2 separate regions of the Homo sapiens genome follow, and region 2 is linked to region 1. The links are contacts of gene promoters, found by promoter capture Hi-C in human tissues and cell types (Jung and others, 2019). All regions are on one chromosome and are shown on one strand. The core of a region is centred on a gene start or on the middle of the fragment in contact, and the rest is flanking DNA. Distances in the headings are between cores, read along the strand shown.

The links. Contacts are between HindIII fragments. The study calls those that stand out against the background at their distance.
Region 2: a fragment that was not itself captured here is called in contact with the fragment with the promoter of KCNQ2 in region 1 in 3 of the 25 tissues and cell types used here (H1 embryonic stem cells, dorsolateral prefrontal cortex and lymphoblastoid cells).

Annotation. Positions count from the first base shown.
Region 1 is chr20:63,469,649-63,474,953 of GRCh38, forward strand. KCNQ2 (potassium voltage-gated channel subfamily Q member 2) reads right to left here and starts at 3,007. Exons shown (of 17, transcript NM_172107.4): 1 at 2,520-3,007. The coding sequence starts at 2,815. RefSeq lists enhancers at 1-105, 106-836. The HindIII fragment of the contact is 7,504 bases long and covers 1-5,305 here.
Region 2 is chr20:63,937,255-63,942,559 of GRCh38, forward strand. UCKL1 (uridine-cytidine kinase 1 like 1) reads right to left here. Exons shown (of 15, transcript NM_017859.4): 9 at 3,856-3,954; 10 at 3,696-3,789; 11 at 3,540-3,602; 12 at 3,340-3,462; 13 at 3,124-3,231; 14 at 2,896-3,052; 15 at 2,575-2,801. The coding sequence ends at 2,722. MIR1914 (microRNA 1914) reads right to left here and starts at 4,290; the gene lies at 4,211-4,290. RefSeq lists an enhancer at 5,064-5,305. The HindIII fragment of the contact is 6,155 bases long and covers 52-5,305 here.

The sequences.
Region 1 (5,305 bases), core at 1,757-4,256:
GGACCTGTATTCAGCCACAGCTGGGTGCGGCAGCACAAGGAGCCCTGGCCTTCCCCCCACTCCCGGCTGCCCCAGGCCCAACTGAGCTCCGTCTCCGTTTAGCTGATGAACAAACAGACCAAATGCTGCCTAACACGCCACACGGGCCAGTCCATGCCGGGCCAGAGGACATGGGGCCATCAGGCCTCCCAAGTGGAGGTGGGGGCTGCACTCCAAGGATGGGCTGGGCCACGGGGACAGCAGCAAACACCACACCAGGGGTCTGGGAGCCGGGCGGTGAGCTGCACCAGCAGTGCTGAGCCACATCCCCTTTCACAGAGGGCACTGGGCCGGCCTGGAAGAGTGTGATGCCCCCCAGCAGTGGTGTTCACAAAGCCCTGGGTTGAGAAGCAGCTGTGCCGACGTTACCGACGGAAAACTGAGGTTTGCAGAGGTTCTGAGACCAGCCCCCAGTGTCCAACCCGAGGCAGGACCAGAAACCCTGCTCTCCAGCCCCGCCGCTTAGAAAAAATCCCCCTCCCAAAGGGGCCGCCTCCCTGAGTCCAAGCCACCCCTGCCCACAGCAAAGGAGCTGAGGAGAGCCTGGGAGCTCAGGGAGGTTCAGGGAGCTCCGTGCCCACAGCAAAGGAGCTGAGGAGAGGCCTAGTGCAGGCTGGAAGGCGGGGCTGTTCAGACGTTGAGGGTCTCGCCTGAAGCCCCCGCATGCTGCTGCTCTATCTTAGAGGGGGCCCGTCCGGACTGGGGGTGGTCAGGAAGAGACGGCTCAGACCCCACATGTGCAAGTGTCCCCATGCTTTGCCCCAGTTCTGGACTGCTGCTCTCAGGAGGCAGAGACAGGAAGGAGAGACAGAGGGGCTGACCCACGCAGGCCCAGGCAGGGGGCGGCCATGCGGAGAGCTGCTGACCCAACGGGAAACCTCAGGAACAGCCACGCTGGGCCCTTGGATCATGGACTCAAAGCAGAACCAACCCTGGGTCAGACGCAGAGCGGGGCGCTGGCCAGGCTGTCAGGGCAGGAGGGTTGTGGGGGTGGGTTCTATCCTACCCTCCTCCGGGGAGTCACCTTGGGCAGGGACCTGGCTGACCAGTACCGGCCCACCAAGAGCCCCTTTGGCCCCCAGCCAGGTGGGGGCCATCAGGGGAGGCCATTCCTGAGAACACAGAAGCTCATCTGGGGATTCGGGAATGAACCCTGGACTGGAAAAGCTAGACTCACCTCCTGGGGGCCACAGGGCTTCCAGGACCCAGGAGGTCGGAGAAGCTTCTGCTTGGGGAGTCCCAGGCTGGGTGCCCAGGGGCCCTCCACGGAGACACCCTCCCTGTAAGCGGCCTGGCATTTCCCTCTGGGATCTTCTCCCTACCCCAGAACCCTCTCATATCACAGTCCACGGAGGGTCTGCTAAGGGCACACTCAAGGCCACACGCAGGCTGGGGCACACTCGTGGGGCACACACCCCTCTCGGCCCAGGTGGGCGCCCGACCAGCTTGTGACCAGTCTGCCCCTCACTCCCATCCCAAAATGCCTCTCACACAAAATGGCCGGTCCCGGAGCTCAGCGGGTCCCTTGTTCAGCTGGGATGGGAGAGCAAGCGCCCTGGCGCGGGGAGGCTGTGCACACCGGCCGCACAGGCCGCACACGCAGCGGGCCGTGCAATTCCACATGCGAACACCCAGGTGCACACGGACGCAGGCTTCGGCCGCCCCCCGCCAGCCCTGCCCCAGGAGGCAGCCGTTCCCTGAGCCTCGCCCGGGAAGAGGGGACAGCCCCTTCCAGGCCCAGGGCTGGGGGTCCCAGGTCTGCCGCAGCCCCTCCCCCGGGCCTCGCTCTGCCAAGGAGGGGTCCTGAGCCCGGGATGTGCACGGGGGCGGCCGGCGGCTGCAGAGATGGGACAGCGCAGGAGCTGAGCGCAGGAGCTGAGGGGGTTCGCGGGGCCAGGGAGGGGCGTCGGCGCCGAGGGGGCAGGACAGACAGCTGCGCTCAGCCCGGGCTGGGGTGGGGGGGTCATGGGAGGGCCCCTCCCCCATCTCAGGAACCCAGAAGCTCACCCTAGTCTGAGGGAGAGCGGCTCGGGAGGATGGCGGAGGACAGGCCAGACCCCTCCCCCCCGCCCTCGCTTGGTCGGGCGGCCCCAGCCCCGCGGGTCCCCGAGAGTCCCGGAGAGTCCAGACCCAGCGCTGCCGCCGTCCCTCCCCGGCCGGCCCTTTGTTCGGCGCAGAGGCCGCGGGGAGGGGCCTCCCAGGCTGAGGAGGGGGCTGGGGCGGCCGCACGTCTCTGTCCTGCGGGCCTGGAGCCCCCACCCCGACCTGAGCGGCCCCGACCCCGGAATCCTTCCTGCCCGCGCGCTGTACAATCGCTCTCCGGTCTCGGCCCAGCACTCCCGCCGGGGAGCGCCGGCCCCGGACCCAGACCCAGGGGCAGGGAGCCAAACCCGCCGCAGCCAGCCTGGCCGGGGTCGCCGATGGGGTCGCCGATGGGGGTCGCCATGGGGGTCGCCACGGGGGCCCCGCCGGCCACTCACACGTAGGCGTGGTAGATGAACGCCCAGCCGCGCGGCCGCTCCAGCACGTTGTAGAGGAAATTCTGCAGCTTGCGGTAGAAGGCGTTGCGCTTGGGGGGCTTCCCGGCGCCCGCGCCGCCCGCGCGAGGTTTGCTGAGGATGCTGCCGCGCTTGGGGGCCTCGGAGCCGGCGATCAGCAGCGCCCCGTCCCGGGTGGAGTCGGGCGCGCCGGGGTCCAGCCCCACGAAGCCCACCTTCAGCTTCTTCTCCCCGCTCGGGCCGGGGTATACGCCGCCGTTGCGCGACTTCTGCACCATGGTGCCTGGCGGGAGGCGCCCCGGGTCGGGCTCAGGCTCAGCGGGGGCGGAGCGCGGGGGGCGGCGCGGGCCCCAGCCCAGGCCCCCCGGCCGGGAGCCGCATGGCCGAGGCGGCGGTTCCGCACTCCTGCCGGGCTTGGGCCGCGCGCGGAGACGCTGCGGCCACCTCGCTCCGCGCGCACCTCGGCGCCTGGCCCGCGGCCGCGCCGGCTCCGCCCGCCGCCTCGCCCCGCCCCGCGTTAACCCCCGCGACGCCAGTCGAAGGAGAGGGGAGGAGAAGAGAGGGAGGGGAAGGGAGGGGAGAGGGAGGGACGGGGAGGGGAGGGGAGGGGGGAAGGAGAGGAGAGGGGAGGAGAGAAGAGGGAAAGGGAGGGGAGGGGAGGGAGAGGGGACGGGGAGAGGGGAGACAGGAGGGGAGGGGGAGGGGAGGAGAGGGGAATGGGAGGGGAGGAGAGTGGCGGGGACGGGGAGAGGGGAGACAGGAGTGGAGGGGGGAGACAGGAGTGGAGGGGGAGGGGAGGGGGGAGAGGAGGGGGAGTGGGGGAGGGGGAGGGGAGGGCAGGGGGAGAGGAGGGGGAGGCAGAAGGGACCAAGGCCCGCGGGACCAGAGCTCTGGGCTGAGCCTGCCCAATCCCCCGGCCATGTGCACACTGACCCTGCGGTCACCTTTGAGTCCGGTAGTACTAACCAAGTGGACCTGCCTGGTGGCCCCAGCGCTCCTGGGGTCCCAGAGCGGTGCCCAGCCGCCTGAGCAGGACTGGAGTCTTCTCAGCTGGGCCCTGGGAGTGGACGCCTCCGGGAAGGGATGGGGGTAGGGGCTCTCCCCAAGACTCTGTTAGGGCTCAGCCCATGGTGACCTCATGCTCTCGGTGTCAGGGTTGCCCAGGCAGTAGGACCCCCTAGACCCCAGGGTGTGTGCAGGGAGGGTCTGTGGAGGCTGGAGGCACCCTGCAAGGAAAGCAGCCCAGGGGAAAGGGGGTGGCCACAGAGGCCGGGAGGCAAGAAGAGGAGCAAGGGCCATGGGGTGGGGGATGGGAGAGAGTCACTCCTAGAGGGCCTTGAAGCCCCCCAAGGGGCCTGGACTTAGTTATGCAGACCCCAGAAGGGGCCTGTGGCAGGGGCAGGGACTGGAGGGTGGCCCCAGGGCAGCAGACAGGCCAGCAGGAAGCCCAGTGCCACACCTCGGGACAAAGGAGGCAGATCTGTGCCTCCTGGACACAGATGGGACGGTGTTTCCTTGGGGGCAAGTGCGCGGAGGTGGCCTCCCCCCTGCCGGCAGCCATGTGTCCTGGGAGGGGTCCCTCTGGAGCTGCTGCTGGGAGACCAAGGGACCCCTGCGGCTCAGTGCTGCCCGCCCTGTGAGGTGCCCCGCCACTGGGCCTTCCTCTGCACATCCAGGAGGGGTGTCATCTTCGAGTGCGTCTCTGACTACATCCAGCCTGTTTGCACGTTCGCCTGGCACCATGGGTTCTACCCAGAGAAAGGCCCTCTGCTGAATCGCTGGCGCCGTCCTCGCAGGTGACCTGCTCATAAAACAGCCCTAACCCTGGTGCAGAGTGAGCTCTTGAGTTGTGTTTGCCCTTTGGTTTCCAGAGCTAGTGGCCACGGGGCCTGTTTTTGTTGTTGTTGTTTTGTTTTTAACTAGGCTGAATACAGAAGGGTCGGTGCAGGCAGAATGCTAACCTGTACGTTATCCAGGACGTTGGGGATAGACGGCAACTTACACAAGCTTGTGCACATCCAGGGGTACTTTCTGGATCCCCGCCTCCCTGCCTCTGTGCCCACGCATTGGCTGTGATTACCAGCATGAAGTGGGCTTGCCCCAAGCGGCTGCGGTTTCTCTCGATTGTTAAGGGAGGAGGCACCAGCCTGGTGCTTTCAGGGGAGGGAGAGGACTTCAGTATGCAGAAGGAAGAGAGCACCGTGGCATCTCCCTGCACACGCTGGCTGGTGCCGCTGGTCTTTCCCACTCACCAGAAGACCCGAGGGAGCAGCCGTAGCTCAAAATGTAAACCCTGCAGGGCTGGGGCCCCTCATCCTGTGGGGGGAAGCCCCAGACTATCCGGTGCCCCTCGGCAGTGCCCGGGCTACACGTGACCTCTCCTGGGCAAGCAGTCATCTCAGGTTTGATGTCAGAGCCCAGTGGGACCCAAGGTCAGGGCTGATCCACAGAGGATGAAGGAAAAGTGACCCCAGTTCCCGTTTGAGCAGATGCACCAGAGCTGAGATGGGAGCAAGGATTAAGGTGCTCTGGTGTCCAGGACATTGGGAGAGACAAACCTGTTCATCTTATTTTTCAGAAAAAAAAGGGGAAAACCCTGCTGAGGTCTTGGGGAGCCATCGGCTGGCTTCACAGCCTCCTGGGGGTGGCCGAGAGTGGCATCCCCCGTGGGGATGCCGGGCTGGAGGGGCCGGCTCAGGATGCAGGTGGAGCTTTGCACCCTGCAGCTCGCGGTTCTCCCGTCTACAAATGGCGTTGGCTCCAGCAGC
Region 2 (5,305 bases), core at 1,879-4,378, 470 kb after region 1:
GGAGATGGGGTTTCACCGTGTTAGCCAGGATGGTCTCGGATCTCCTGACCTTGTGATCTGCCCACCTCGGCCTCCCAAAGTGCTGGGATTACAGGCATGAGCCACCGCGCCCGGCCTGTTTTTGTTTTTGAGACGGAGTCTTTGTGGCCCAGGCTGGAGTGCAGTGGCACAATCTCGGCTCACTACAACCTTCATCTCCTGGGTTGAAGTGATTCTTGTGCCTCAGCCTCCTGAGTAGCTGGGATTACAGGCATGTGCCACCACGCCTGGCTAACTTTTTGTATTTAGTAGACGGGGTTTCACCATGTTGGCCAGCCTGATCTTGAACTCCGGACCTCAGGTAATCCGCCCGCCTCGGCCTCCCAGGGTGCTGGGATTACAGGCGTGAGCCACTGCACCAGGCCTAAGTTTTTCATTTGATACAGTAGTAGTTAAGAAATCAAGCCGTGTGGTTATATTAGGTCTGGTTCATTTTAGCTTCTGTACAGAACAGTCACGAATTAATCACAGTCGGTCCTGGGCAAACTGACCACAGGTTTTTAGTTTCTCACTGTGGAAACAAAGCTGCCTGAATGTCGCTGCTGAGTTGTCTCGGGTGGGATCGCTGGGAGCGGGATCTGGAAGCCTTCCCTTGACTGGTGGCCCCACACTGCCCTGCAAAGAGGCTCCCCATCTTCTCGCTGCCCCTTCTAGCCTTAGCGTTGTCAGACGTTTTTTTCTGGCTTGGTCTTTGAATTTTCTTAATTAAGTAGAATCCACGTTTATTAAGTTCAGTTTTTTTTTTCTTTTTCCTTTGAGACAGAGTCTTGCTCTGTCATCCAGGCTGGTGTGCAATGGCGCGATCTCGGTTCACTGCAGCTTCCGCCTCCTGCGTTCAAGCGATTCTTGTACCTCAGCCTCCCGAGTAGCTGGGACTAAAGGCGCGCCACCACGCCCAGCTAATTTTTTGTATTTTTAGTAGAGACGGGGGTTTCACCATGTTGGCCAGGCTGGTCTCGAACCTATGTAGGCCTCCCAAAGTGCTGGGATTACAGGTGTGAGGCAGCGCGCCCGGCCTATGTTAAGTATTTTATATATGGGATTCTTACAGAGAAATGTTAACAGCAAGCCGAGCACTGGACACTGGGTGGCGGGCAGCAAGACCCTTGCCAGGGAGGGTTGTCGGCCCTGTTTCTCCTGGTCCAGGGGACCGCGGTTAACAGGCGCTGCGGCAAAACTCTCCGTCCGCCCAGCGCCCCAGGAATCTCCTCCGTCTCCAAGACGGGGTCGGACCACCCTCCCCGCTCCCCCCGGCTATGCCTTCCTTGCGCCCCGCTCTCCGTGACCGAGGAACGCCAGGAAGGGACCACTTCTAGCGCCAGCCCCGCTGCTCAGGGTCGGGTGGGGGGCGGGGCCAGCGCGGGGGCGGGGCCGGCTCAGGGGCGTGGTCACTCGGTGGGGCCCAGCGGGACCTGGCCTACCAGGCGGAGCGGGGGCTGGGCAGGGGCGTGGCCAATCGGGACCGGTGGGGCGGGCGAGTGGCGGGAGCGCTGCACCCGCAGATGGGCCCCCCACGTGGGGACCAGCGCCCACCCGGCCTGGTCGCATGGGCAATGGGAGACCCCACTGCAGCGCAAGGTCTCGCGGCATCTGGGAAGACCGGCCTTACGCCGTCCCTCCCTTCGTCAGCAGACCCCTGTCCAGGATCCGGGATCCGGCATAATCGAGGTGCCAGGCTCCGAGGACGCCACGCTTTTGGCCGTGGACTTCCACGCAGAAAGACACTGGCGCCTGAGAGGACGGGGACGACCGTGTCCCGTGTCAGATGCGCCTGGCCCACGGCTGAGTCCCCAGCATCAGCCCTCAGCTCCACGGCTGAGCCCCGGGAGGCTGATTCAGTTATCTGGGCCTCTCCGGGGCCCGACGTGTGGGCGCCGCGCGTGCACCTCCTCTTCCTCAGTAAACCACGGCGGCGACTCCTCTCGGGGAGCCCGGGGGGGGCCTGCTCGGAAAGCAGGGTGGGCAGGACCTAAGGGAACCCACGCTTGCGGGCGTGGGCACGGCAGAGAGCACGGGATGCGGGTGGGCCTCCAGGTCTGGAGGGGTGAGCGAGGCGGGCCCTGAGCAGCAGTGGCTCCGGGCTCGTGGGCCCCGGGTGGCCCCGCCTCCAAGCGCAGGCCCCCACTTCCGCCCTGGTCTGCCTCCTGGCTTTGCTGCCTCCAGCGACTTGTCCTGACGGGAAGGACCCTCCCCCCCCCCAACTGTGGGGAGGACCCTGATGGTACAAATTTGTGGGTGGGGGCAAAACAGCCTGCCTCTTGTGAGACCCAGAGCACCAGGGGGCCCTGTCCCCTCCCTAGGTCCAGGCCAGGTGGCCACCAAGCTATGGGTTCTAGGGGCCCCATCTAGCAGAGCTAGGAGCTGCAGGGCCCAGTTCTACCCCTTCCTTCATCTGGCACAAGTGCAAGACTGGGAATGCTTGGTCCTGCAGGGGAGAAGGCAGGGCCCTCAGCTCCCTCCCTCCCTCCCCATGGGAGTCTCCACAAATGCATGCCTCAGCCAGGACACCTCTCCTGTGCTGTAACCAATCACACCTTCATTTTTCTAAAGCTTTATTTATTTTATAAAATGCATAGAATAAATTATACTAGTAACATTTTAAAAATTAACATCTTTGTATTCAGCAGTCCTGGGTCAGGAGGCAGGAGGAGGGTGGTGGGGACGGGATGGCTCACTGGGCAGCTAACCCGTGTAGGCCACTTCCTCCTCGTCACTGCCATCGGGGACCGCGTCTGTCCCAAAGTAGCGGTCGCCAAAGTTCCCTGGAAAAAGGGGGGGGGGGGTCCAGTGTGGTGGGGCCTCCCAGGGCCACCCACCCTGCCCTCATGTGCGGCTGAAGGGCCCGGGCAGCCTCACCAATGCCTGGGATGATGCGGAAAAGGTCATTGACCCGCTTGTCCACCGCCGTGGTGATGATTCTCACTCGCGGAAATGCATAGGCCACTGAGTGCACGCCCATCTCTGCCATGAGCAGCGACAGCAAAAAGATCTTGTCCTCAGGCACGTCGTGGTCCTACCGAGTGTATTGGGCAGGTAAATCCCACCTCTGCCTGAACCTGCCCCGCCTACCCAGGGCTCACTCACCAGGAGCACGCGCACTGCCATCATGGCCGCCGCGCCCGTGGACACGGTGCAGTCCATGAGGATCACGTGGTCATCGCTGATGTCCTTGGGCAGCCTCAGGTAGTGGAGCTGCGGGCAGCAGGGGTCAGGCTGCAGGTGGGGCTCCCTGCGTCCCCTTGCTGTGAGCTCCCTCTGCCCCCTACCCCCGGGCTCATCACCCCGGCTGCCCCCAGGCACCTCGGGCTCCCCGGTAAGCTGGTTGGTCTGGATGAGGATGGTGCCGATGCGCACGTCTTTGCACACAGCGCGCAGCGCGGGCTCCATGGTTTCACCGGCGCGCAGAATGGACACACCGGTGATCTGCGGGGAGGGGAGGCTAAGCGCCCACATCCCGCCCCAGCAGCCTGTCCCGCGCCCAGGTGTGCCCAGGCAGGTACCTGCTTCCCCGCATAGCACTTGCCCGCATAGTCCTGCCCCTGCGGGGTCTGTACGACGCAGTCCTGTGGGGTGCAGGGTGAGGACTCCGGTGAGCGCAGGGAGCTCGCACCGGCTCCAAGACCCACCCTCCACCTCGCGGGCTACGGGCTACGAACCTGAAAGGGCAGGAAGGAGAGCGCGTGCTCGATGAGCAGCCGCATCAGTCTCTTGGAGTAGAAGATGAACTCGTCGCGACTGGTCTCCTTGTCCCTGTGGGGCCAACAGTTGAGCGGGAGCACGCGCCCGGGGCCGCCCCGTCCCCAGGTGGGCCCTCACCTGATGATGGTGTGCATGCCCCGTACCTGCGGCGTGCTCTTCAGGACGCTCAGCGTCCGGGGCAGCGGGTGGCACTGGTGTGCCGAGGCCAGCGCAGCCCTGGGGACAAACCGATGGGGAACACTCAAGAAGGGGGTCTTTTCCCAGAGCCCTCCCTCCCCACAGGACGGCTGTGCGTCACTGTGAGGGGAACACACGGGCCAGGCACAGCACGAGGTGCAGAGCGGGCCTGACTTCTGCCTGGGGCTGAGCTGGGGGGAGACGTCGCCCTACCTGAGCTGTCAGGCAAAGGCGAAAGATGGCGGCGAACAACGGGGCAAGCTCACCATCAGGCAGAAAGCTAGCGGGGTAGGCTGTGAGGGCCCCTCCCAGTGCGGGACCCCTCCTGCGCTAAGAGGAAGCAGAAGTGGGCCGGGCACAGGGCGGGCTCACACGTGCTGATAGGTGTCATACCCCAGAATGGGTAGCTTGTCCCCAGCCTCTCCCCGGGGGAACTAAAGCTTTGTGGGGTCAGGCCCCGCCCTGGCTCCTCCCCGAGGTGGTGCGCGGCCCCTCAAGAGAGGGGGGTGGGGGGCAAAGCTGGCTCAGTGTCTCTTGGCTGTCCCGTCCCGCCCCGCTGCCCAAGCCTGGGGATGGCCGGGGCAGCAGCAGGTCTAGGAGCGGGCAGGAAAAGGGCGGGGTGGAGGCAAGAAAGAGGTGGGACAGGGAGGAGGCAAAGCCGGAAAGGGGCATGACAGGGGCAGGGAATGGGGCGGGGCAGGAAAGGGGGTGATGCAGGGGCAGGAAGAGGAAAGCGACAGGCCACAGAATTGGGTGTGGCAGGGGAAGGAAAGAGGCAGGGCACGGAATTGGGTGTGGCAGGGCAGAAAAGAGGCGTGACAGCGGCAGGGAAAGGGGCGGGGCCGGGAATGGGGTGTGGCAGGGCAGAAAAGAGGCGTGACAGCGGCAGGGAAAGGGGCGGGGCCGGGAATGGGGTGTGGCAGGGCAGAAAAGAGGCGTGACAGCGGCAGGGAAAGGGGCGGGGCCGGGAATGGGGTGTGGCAGGGCAGAAAAGAGGCGTGACAGCGGCAGGGAAAGGGGCGGGGCCGGGAATGGGGTGTGGCAGGGCAGAAAAGAGGCGTGACAGCGGCAGGGAAAGGGGCGGGGCCGGGAATGGGGTGTGGCAGGGCAGAAAAGAGGCGTGACAGCGGCAGGGAAAGGGGCGGGGCCGGAAATGGGGTGTGGCAGGGCAGAAAAGAGGCGTGACAGCGGCAGGGAAAGGGGCGGGGCAGGAGCAGGAAAGAGGGCCTAGCGGGAGCAGCGGGGCAAGGGGCTACGGGAAGGCGGGTCACACAGCAGCACCACGGAGCACACTGCTCACATATCCCAACGTAGCTTCCTCTGCTTGCCAGGTGAAGAGCATGTTCAGGGAGGGAACAAGGCAGGAAACGGGGGTTTACAGAGAGAAGGA